Regions from separate parts of the Homo sapiens genome. Here regions 2 and 3 are each linked to region 1. The links are contacts of gene promoters, found by promoter capture Hi-C in blood cells and fetal thymus (Javierre and others, 2016). All regions are on one chromosome and are shown on one strand. The core of a region is centred on a gene start or on the middle of the fragment in contact, and the rest is flanking DNA. Distances in the headings are between cores, read along the strand shown. Region 1 holds the start of TTC23L (tetratricopeptide repeat domain 23 like). Region 2 has its middle 150 kb from the start of RAI14-DT. Region 3 has its middle 78 kb from the start of RAI14-DT.

Region 1 (3,434 bases), core at 436-2,935:
TCGTGAACGCTTCTCATGCAAAGCTCCTCACCCAGGTTTGCCTTAAGCAGGAGGTCCCAGTGTTTCAGCCCAGTAAGTACCTGTGATGTCAAAATGCTGTGATACTTACATATGGAAGCAGAAATCCCAGTCGATGTCATTGCTAACAGTTGGGATACGGATGGGGCTGGCTTGCATCTTCTTCCTACCAAGAATCAGGTAAGGTCAGCTTTGAGAGAAAAGGCTGGGTGTCTGTTCTATTTTCCCCCTCTGGTTTGCTATTAACATTAAACTAAAACTGCTCAAATATATAACCCATCCTAAATCCACAGACTACGCATACTTAGATATGGAGACCGCTGGAAAACAGACATTTGCCAAATTAAATGTCTAAGTTAAATTTCTTTCCCCTAATTTCAACTCCACCCTACTTCTCCAAAATCCCTGGCCTTTATGTCTCAAAGCAAGCACATTTACAGTTCCTGGGTCATCAAAACTATGGTCACCTACTTAACTCAGATATTGTTTTTGCAGGTCTGACGGCGTGTTGGATTTAAGCAAAGCAACCAACTCTCAGTGGTAAACGAAGCACAGCCAGTGTATTGGTTAATTCTGCTTTCCCCCCCCCCCCCGGGGTCATTTCACTAATTAATAGCAGATTCTAGTACAGGGGTCACGAGGCGGGTACAGAGGCTCACGCCTGTAATCCCAGCACTGTGGGAAGCCGAGGCGGGTGGATCACCCGAGTTCAGGAGTTCGAGACCAGCCTGGCCAACAGGGTGAAACCCCGTCTCTACTAAAAATACAAAATATAGTCGGCTGTGGTGGTGCACGCCTGTAGTTCCAGCTACTCGGGAGGCTGAGGCAGGAGAATCGCTTGAACCCGGGAGGCGGAGATCGCGCCACTGCACTCCAGCCTGGGCGACAGAGCGAGACTCCGTCTCAAAATAAAATAAAACAATAAAATGAAATTCATGTGTCTGTTTTAGTTGTTGCTGTTAGATGATAGGAGAAACCTCGGAAGCACAAAACGAAAAATGTGATTTCTAAATACAGTATTTGTGAAATTCAACTCTCAAGGAAGGCTATGCCAGTCGCTTAAATCAAACCCAAATCGAACGCAGTTACTTATTGAATGTTAACATCCACCAAGTCGCCTCTCCTTTCACCCTCCAGAATCACTAATTCCCACCGAGCCCTGAGTGGCTTTCTGACCCAGGCTCCAGAGCATCCATTATCCGAAAATCAGAAAGGGAGAGTCACTAATTTCTCTTTTTAACCTCCACTTTAAACACTATGCCCACAGCAAAGAGTTCTGATCTCTCAAACTCCCGGACTCTGTTCCTATGACGTTCCGCACGGCCCTGAGCCCCTCAAGGACGAATCGCTCCTCTTTTCCCGCTGTGGTTCTGCGGCAAGTCTGTAAGCCCTGACGCCGCAGGTCGAGCTCTGAGAGCCTCTCTGCCGCGGAGGCTCTAAGAGAACGCGCGAGTGCGCAAAGGGCACCTGGCTCAAGGCGGAGAAACCACGCCCCGGAACCAGCCTCCCAGCTCCCTGAGCCCGACGGCGCGGCTTCCTCCCGCTGCGTCGGCCTCCTGACCCTGGCGCACCTCGGTCCGGGCGCCAAAGCGGTGCCTCGCGAAAGCTGCACAGCCTGCGACGTCCCCAGTTACCTTCCGCAGCCCAGGTCCGGCCAAGGAGACAATACCGTTGCCATGGGAACGGAACGCTACGGGTTCTGCTGGGAGCGCCTGTAGCCATGGCGACGCGGGGCACTTCCGGTTCGGAGAGTCCCTGTTGTCTGGCGCCTACAGCAGCCCTTGCCTTACCCTCCGCTTTCCCTTCCCCGCAGGTTAGACGCGCCCGGCCTCCGGCTCGCCCCAAAACTGGCCTCTGCATATTGTATCTCACGAGACCTTACCCCTCGGAGGTGAAGGCGTAGGAAGAGAAGATACATTCCGTCCAAGGATGGAAGGGAGCGCCGGGCCCCACGGCCCTACTTATTTAAAGCTGCGACGTGTGCGGGCTGTATTCGGCGACGATCCTGGCCACGGTGCACCCCCACAGCTCCTCGGGAGTTTTGTTTTTATGGACCCCAGAGGAAAGGCTTAGATATGGCTGTTGACTGTGCTGGCACCGTCTGTGTTACCCAGTAAGATTGGAGCTAGGCATGGTTAGGAAAGCTGATTGCAGGAAGAGAGTAGGGTAAGAAATCGACTACTAGATCTGCTAATGGTTAGCTGTTCATTATTTATTTAGCACTTAGCCCTAAATAATGCAGCCATATCTTACCCTTTCGTTGGCATGGAATACAGTGTGTGTAATACACACAAGGTGCAGAGGCAATTGTGGCCATACCCAAAGAAACAGCGCCAGCTCTTGCAACGCTATGTTGAAGGATGTTATTATGAACCCTATCATAGACTAGGCCTATGGCAAGTCAAGTTGGAGTGAATGTGTCCCAGTTGTTTTCAGAAAAGAGCAGACTAGGTAGAGAGACAAGGAGAACATTGAGAATGTGAAAGATGGTGTTTACGTTTGGTGTTTGTTATTTCCAGCTCTAGGCTGGAAGTTTAATTGCCATTGATCCAAGACTGCCAAGAAAGCCTTTTTGGAGTTAGGTTGGAGGAGTTATTTAAATGAGTTTGCTTGAATATCTCTTAAGTAAAACCTGTATGGTCTGTTAACTCAAGATTTAAATCTGTACTTTCGAGCTCCATAGTCACAATTTTGGAAAGATTCCCCCACTTTATTCTTTTTCCTAAGAAAACTCTCAGCATGGAACAATGATGACAGCAATGAACCTGATTTCAGAATGTCAAGGTTCTGGTTTTGACTCTGTAGCCTGGGCCGAGTCACGGCCAGTGGGTCCCAATTTTCTTGCCTATACGGTGAAAGTTTTTGTACCACTTGCTTTCTGAAGCGCCTTCTGGTTCCAGGTTTCTGTAAGGGGTAAACGATTTTTGTGACTCTATGAACAGTATTTAACATGTATGGGAGTAAAAAGGAAGAACCTGTTTCCTGTTCTCCAACATTTATTTCTTTTACCCCTTGTTAAGTTGGTCATCAAATTGAAAGGTTTTAATGTTCTTTCATTCTAGGAAATGGCTGTGAGATTGTTTCTAAGTATATTAAAGGTAATGTCTCTTTTCTAAACCTTTGCTTTTGCTGATAATTGTGGAGAGAAGAACCAGAACAGGCACTGAATTCCCATTCCTAAAGCCAACGCTCTAATTCGGCCTCCATTTCATTAGCTCTGACCGGAAGCATGTTGCCTGCATCTGTAAAAATTATAAATCAAAATAAAATAACTTTGGCGACTATTTTTTTTCTTTTTTTGAGACAGAGTCTCACTCTGTGGCCCAGGTTGGAGTGCAGTGGTGTGATCTTGGCTCAGTGCAACCTCCGCCTCCCGGGTTCAAGCAATTCTGCTGCCTCAGCCTCCCGAGTAGCTG
Region 2 (3,434 bases), core at 283-2,782, 340 kb after region 1:
GATCTATGAACTAAAAAGTCTAATTAATTGCCCCACATACACCAGAAATTCAAGGTAAACCAGAGACAGGATAATTACTCCCCTTCAACAGGGGAAAGATGTGAGGTGCAATGCATTTACTGATCCATAGCAATTCTGAAACCTCCTAGGTCAATGTTACCAAGTTTCCTTGCTCTGGAAAGAGGTAACATTTCTTGATTCAGCCCAGGTTCTGCTCCCTGGGAATAGTTCTCTAATCTATTTTTCTGATTCTGCTTTTTGGAAGATCCTTTTGTTCTCATCATCTCCCTTGCTCATTTCTACAGGGGCATTGTAAAACAGGTCATTTTTGGTGGCTTAGCTGCATTCACTGCCTGTTTCCTACTTGGGGTCTCAAGAGTGGTTTTACATTTCAAATAATCCTTGTCTGTCTTAGGCCAGGCTCTAAGTGCTTTTGTCAATAAACTAGAAACCTTTGTGGGTTTTGAAATACCCAAAGATTTTTAGATTTGACTCCAAAATTGGCTGGGTGTGGTAGTTCATGCCTGCAATCCATACTTTGTGAGGCTGAGGCAGTAAGATTGTTTGATGCCAGCAGTTCAACACCAGCCTGGACAACACAGCAAGACCCTGTCTCAAAAGAAAGAAAGAAAGAAAGAAAGAAAGAAAGAAAGAAAGAAAGAAAGAAAGAAAGAAAGAAAGAAAGAAAGAAAGAAACTAAAAAACAAAAAAAGATTTGATTCCATTCCATTCCATGTGCCAAAAGTCATAGCCATAATTCTTTTAAACTATGCTTCTCTCTTTAGACATAATTACTGCTAATTTAGGCATACCAGGCTGCTGTGGAAACATGCCCTTAAGCTTCCTAAGACTCGTTTTGTCTAGCAGCATGAACTGTTTACATGGGCAGCCTGTCTGAAGACAAAGTATTAATATAACATTTTTGACCTCTCGAGTTCTCTATTAAAGGTAAAGCCCTTATAAAGGAAATTTTCTGGAGCCTGTCAAGAAGCTGCTTTCTGTCATGCTGTCCCACTCTCTTGCCTAGGTATAGACACATAATCAACAATGATCATTTAGACAGAGCAGCTTGGGAGCCAGGCAGGGTCGTGGTGCTTGCCAGACCTCAGCACCATTAACTGTAATCCTTTGTCATAGGACACAGCCACCCGGCCAGCTCTGCCTTTTCCTTCACCCCTCTTACAAGCTGTCACTTGCTTTCAGAAATCTTGCCAGTTGGCCTGGGAATCAAACCCTGTGGGGTGACCCATGCAAGAAGATGCCTATCACCAAGTACATGCCTTAATTACTGCTGTCACCTGAAAATAGCCATACGAACCAAAGCAAGTGCGTGAATCTGAGACAGCAACAAAATCTGTATCAGACCATTTTGCGCCAGAAAGTCCTGAGTTCTCTGGGTCAGGGCTTTTTAACAGAATAGAAAGGAGCCCCAGCAATTGTCTCTCATCCTGTAAATCTGCCCAGTGTCTGTCACATAGTTGGCAAAGACACTGATTTTTCAGAGGCAGTCAATGCTGGCAGACAATCAGGATATCTGAAAGCCCTTTTCTTTTGGGAATAGCAAAACTTCCACAGCTCACTTCATGCTGATCTTCTCTGAACTCAGTCTTTTTGTGACATTTCTAAAAAAAAGAGCAGTTAAAAACTACGAAGTTAATTCTTGAGCTATAGATGAATTCCTTCTAAGTACCACAACTATGCTTTGGGTAGTTGCTACCTGGTGAATGTTAATAAGTATACGCTCAGGGCAATTTAGACTGTGGTTTCCAAACCAGGAAGAATAACATTTTAAAATGATAGATTACTAGACAGTGCTGGAAGATTCTGGTTTTGGATGGAGTCTAGAAACATGTTTTAAAATGTTCTTCAGGCATAATAGGTGCAGTTCATTGTTGTAAAAAATAGGATCCATATTTTGGTGATTTTACACAATCAAAATGTCTTTCTTGCTCATATAACAGTTCGGTAAATGTGTCCTGGGTTGGTGGGTAGCTTTCCTCTGTATCACGATTCAGAGACCCAGGATTCTTTCATTTTGTGCCCCAAAGAGAACACCAAGTAATTGCGGCAATGCCACAGCAGAAAGAACCTATCGTTCCTGGGGCTGGGGAAACAAAGAGAAGAGGATGACATTATTGAAACTTGTGAGGGCTCCCATAGAGCAGAGATGCAGACATCTGAGAAGGAGGCTGCCATTCAGCTGCTGCTGCTGTCCCCAAGCTTGGAGTGGGGCTCCACGGGGCTGTGACTGGCTGAGGAGTGGGTGTTGGTTGGCTGCTGCTGGGGTCTCCAAGAAGGCACAATGAAGCTAGTTCTGTGCGTGCTGGGAAAACTGCACACCGGATTCAACTGCTGCTACTGGAATGAACTGCCTCTGCTGGAGAAAGATGCGGGCCTAAGGTGAGGCTGGTGGGACCTGGAGGCAAACAGGAAACCCACAAAAAGCAAGTGGGAAGGAGCAAATCTCTCCTTCCTTCCCACGCTTCCAGTTTTCTTCTAGAATCCATGTTGGCAGAAGCCGAGAGGAAGTCAGTTGGCAAAGCAGAAGCCCAGCCCCAGCATTATACAGCAGAGAACAGTTGAGTGGGTGTGAAGGTGAGAAGCAGTAACTCAGTCACTGGCACCATGACGGTCCTTGGGTTAGGGGCAGTGGGTAGCCCTAATCACCCATGCTGGATTCCTTCCGTTTCCCTCTTTGGATTTACTCTCCACCCTTCCCACCTTCGCAGTGTCCCCAGCTGTTGTCTGTGTGATGCACAACAGGCTGCCTCGCACTCTAGCTTCTGGCTGTGAGCATGGCTAAGAGGTGGAGAGAAGGAGGGGAGTGAGGATGGGACACACACTGACCTGATTCCCAGCGATGGGTCTGCTGTGTTTTTCCTTGGAGCTCCTCCTTTCTTCCTCTTAAGACCACGGGGTGGCAACACGGTTTTGCTGCTTTTAGTCCCAGCACACGGCACCATTTTCTGTGGGTTCCCAACAGCCAGTTCCCATCTCTGTAATTTGTTTCTTTATTAGACTCTCCTCACATCCTCCTAATTTCAGAGTGCCACTGTTTTTCTGGGACCCTGACTGATAGGCAGTCTAAGCTTGAGATGAAAAGAAGTGGACACAATTACAGGGAACCAGAGAGGAGACAGCCAAAGGGGAGAAAGCCACCTAAGGGAGCAATGGCCTTCTGTAGAGGCACTGCCAATTGGGTGTCTCAGTGGGGAGGCAGATGGTTCATGCAGATGGTGGAAATAATTAACCCAACATCTTTCTCCCCTCTTCCAGTTCCTGACTTCCTCTGACCGCTCTCCACTGGCCAAACCCAATGAGAAGACAGAATTGAGGCTGTCGGTAGTGTGTCCTCAGAGATCAACCACCTTGGTCAGACAGGAGGTTGAAGAAGGCTGGAAAGCAAAACTGGAGGGTGAACAGAAAAGTTCCAG
Region 3 (3,434 bases), core at 681-3,180, 260 kb after region 1:
GGGCTGAATGTGTGGGGAGTTTTATGAGGCAGGGTAAAGACAGAAGGGGCCTTTAGGGGAGAATAACAAAGAGGACGACTCCACTCACTTCACGGGAGCTCAGGGATGGCTCTGCACACCATCCCATTTGTGCTAAATTCCACCCAGAGTGGTATTTATGAGTCCCATTCCCAAGGGACTCATATCATCTGGTTCGTATATTTAGGCCATTTTCTCTGGTGTATGAACTGTCCAGAGAGAGTAGGAGATGGTGGAGCAGGAAGCCCTTTGGATAACTGGCCACCTGTCCTTGTTTTCCCGCAGGCCCTGTTCTGTTGTCAGCCAGGTTCTGAGGCTAAACAGAGGCAAACCCATTGCTGCAGAGCTCATCCCTGGCCAGTGCTCTGGGTTTATAAAATGCCTGAACTGCTGTCGTTCATTGGTTCCAGTGGTCAGACCAGCCTACTGGTAAATGGATATAGTTTATTTTTCAGTGCCTGAACAAAAGTGTCTTCCCTGTGGACCTCTCCAGGGCCTGGAATTATTTTATTAGTCTCTTCTTTGAGTCAAATTAAGTATTAAGAGTATGTATGCCATCATTAGAGGTGATCGACATCTTGGTCCAATTCAGTTTATTGCATTAACCAGCAGGCAAGGTTGGAGTGACCCTCCCTCCCTTTACCCTTTCTCCTTCTCCTTCCTCCCCCTCTCCTTTCTCCTCTTGCAGCATCTGTTCACAGGCACACTTTGGTAAGGTTGGGGAAGTGGTGCTGCAGAGGTGTGGATCTGCTTCAGGGAGCCTTCTGGAAGTTCAGGCCCAGAGTGGAGAGCAGTGAGGGAAGTGCTGGAGTGGCCTGGGGCTGCAGGAAGACACTGGGCTTCTTGGCTGAGCACAAACTTTCACAACAGCTCCTATGGTAGCCTGAGTGATGGCCACCGAAGACATGCATGCTTGAATCCCTGGAACTTGTGAATGTTACCTTATGTGGCAAGGGGGACTCTGCAGATACAACTAAGTTAAGGACCTTGGGATGGAGAGATTTTCCTGGTGGGCCTCAAATGTGGTTGTCAGTGTCTTTATAAGAGGGAGGCAGATGGAGCTTTAACACAGATGAGGAGACAAAATGACCACAGAGGCAGAGATGGGAGTAATGAGGTCATGAGCCGAGGATTCTTGGCACCCATGAGAAGCTGGAAGGGGCAAGAAACAGGTTCTCTCCTGGGGCCTCCAGATCCCTTGATTTTAGGCCTATAAGGATGAGTTCAGACTTCTGGTATCCAGAATTGTAAGAGAGTAAGCTTGTGTTGTTTTAAGCCACCAAGTTTATGGTACTTTGTTATAGCAGTGGTAGCAAATGAATACAGTTCATGGGCACACTCTAATTCTGGGTTCTCTAAGGAGGCTCCTGAGACCTAAGGGTCTGAAAGATGTAGCTTCATGAATGCTTGGACCCAACAGGACACCCCAGGCTGAACAAGGCCTTTGCTCTAGGTCAGATTTGCTCTCCCAGGGGAGATCCAATCAGTTTAAAATGGAACCTGCGTGCGGTGGCTCACGCCTGTAATCCCAATACTTTGGGAGGACGAGGTGGGCAGATCACCTGAGGTCAGGAGTTCAAGACCAGCCTGGCCAACATGGGGAAACCCCATCTCTACTGAAAACACAAAAAATTAGCTGGGTGTGGTGGCAGGTGCCTGTAATCCCAGCTACTTGCGAGGCTGAGGCAGAAGAATCGCCTGAATCCGGGAGACGGAGTTGTGGTGAGCTGAGATTGCGCCATTGCACTCCAGCCTGGGTGACTGAGCCAGACTCCATCTCAAAAAAAAATAAAATAAAATCTAATGTATATGATTCATTTTGAAGCATCGGCTCACACAATTGTGGAGGCTGAGAAGTCCCACGGTCTGTCATCTTAAAGCTGGAGACCCGGGAAAGCTGGTGGTCAAGTTCTGAGAGCCAGAGGGCTGATGGTACATGTCCCAGTCAAGGGCAGGAGAAGATTAACATTCCCATTCAAGCAGTCAAGCAGAGAGAGCAAATACCCTCTTCCAGCACCTTCGCTTTCTACTTAGACCTTCAATAGACTGGAGGATGTCTTCCCATACTGGGGAGGGCGGTCTGCTTTACTCAGTCCACTGATTCAATGCTAATCTCATCCAGAGACACCCTCACAGACACACCCAGAAATAATATTTAATCTGGACACCGCATGTTTCAGTCGAGTTGAGGTTTAAAATAAGCCTTCACGCACCCTTACAACTTAGGTGCCATTTCCCCCCACTGAGCTCCCTTCTTATCCTCTGAGAACACAAGGAGGTATTACTCACAACACAGCCCAGCTGGCCAGCACCAGCTACATAATCTGTGGGGTCCAGTACAAAATGAAAATGCAGAACTGATTCTTCCACACTTGAGAAGCATCTCATCTCAAGATGGCGGGAGCAGGGCATTCACCAGGCATGGCGCCTTCTGCAGGCCCAGCCCAGAGCTACCACAGGTCATGCTCCCATGAGGAGGACTCCTGCCTCTGGCCTCTGTTCTATTTCTAGGTTGGACTTCCACCTCCTACATCATTTTTCTTCCAGAAGCACATGAAGCTTTTTTAGGAAGCCATTTCTTTTTGGCTCCATTTCTTCTTCGTGGAAAAGGCTTCCACTCTCAAAGTTTGCCAAGCCAAAAATAGAATCTGCTTGAAGAGTGAAATGAGACTCAGGATCCTGCTGATAACTCCAATGTTTTAAAAACAAACAAGGACAACTATAAAGATAGTTTATGGGCTCATTAAAAATCTCCAAACCACAGTATCAACCACAGGATGGAGGGTGTCATTTTAGGAAAACTCTGTAATGCACCACGGTGAACCCGCCCCGCTGAAGCTCCATGGTGGCACAGGGGCCTCTGGCAGGGCGATGCGCTTCTCACAGTGAGCAGGGAGTGGGAGGCCCCCACAAGCTCTTATGGGAGAAGGGAATCAGGGGTGCCTATGCAACCATAGGACATATAAGTGTAAGTGGCTTTTTTTTTTTTGAGACGGAGTTTTGCTTCTGTTGCCCAGGCTGGAGTGCATCGGTGTGATCTTGGTTCACTGCAACCTCTGTCTCCCAGGTTCAAGCGATTCTCCTGCCTCAGCCTCCTGAATAGTTGGGACCACAGATGTATGCTGCCACACCTGGCTGATTTTTTAAAAAAATTATTCGTAGCAATGAGCATCTCCCTATGTTGCCCAGGCTGGTCTTGAACTCCTGGGCTGAAGTAATCCTCCCACCTCCACCTCCCAAAGTGCTGAGATTACAGGCATGAGAGCCCAGCCTTATGCTTTTAGTTCATACTTTAGGAAGAGTTATCAGAAATGAAATGCAACGCAGTGCCTAGGGCTGGGAAGGAGGTGGGGGTAACTAGAAGGACAAAAAAGAGTGGAAGATGAGGATGACAGAAGAAGGGTGTGCTATTGATC

Evidence for each region. Contacts are between HindIII fragments. The CHiCAGO score rates a contact against its expected background, and 5 or more counts as called.
Region 2: a fragment that was not itself captured here is called in contact with the fragment with the promoter of TTC23L in region 1 in 2 of 17 cell types (total B cells and endothelial precursors); the score reaches 7.4 in total B cells.
Region 3: a fragment that was not itself captured here is called in contact with the fragment with the promoter of TTC23L in region 1 in 1 of 17 cell types (total B cells); the score reaches 5.3 in total B cells.

Annotation. Positions count from the first base shown.
Region 1 is chr5:34,837,415-34,840,848 of GRCh38, reverse strand. TTC23L (tetratricopeptide repeat domain 23 like) reads right to left here and starts at 1,685. Exons shown (of 11, transcript NM_144725.4): 1 at 1,590-1,685; 2 at 110-184. The coding sequence starts at 177. It overlaps TTC23L-AS1 (TTC23L antisense RNA 1), which reads left to right and starts at 1,517. Exons shown (of 2, transcript NR_183259.1): 1 at 1,517-1,666; 2 at 1,832-3,302. RefSeq lists an enhancer at 1,286-1,395. The HindIII fragment of the contact is 6,317 bases long and covers 1-3,434 here.
Region 2 is chr5:34,501,880-34,505,313 of GRCh38, reverse strand. No RefSeq gene overlaps it. Among named protein-coding and RNA genes, the nearest start is that of RAI14-DT, 150 kb to the left of the region's middle. RefSeq lists an enhancer at 2,110-3,309. The HindIII fragment of the contact is 1,380 bases long and covers 843-2,222 here.
Region 3 is chr5:34,576,388-34,579,821 of GRCh38, reverse strand. No RefSeq gene overlaps it. Among named protein-coding and RNA genes, the nearest start is that of RAI14-DT, 78 kb to the left of the region's middle. The HindIII fragment of the contact is 1,299 bases long and covers 1,281-2,579 here.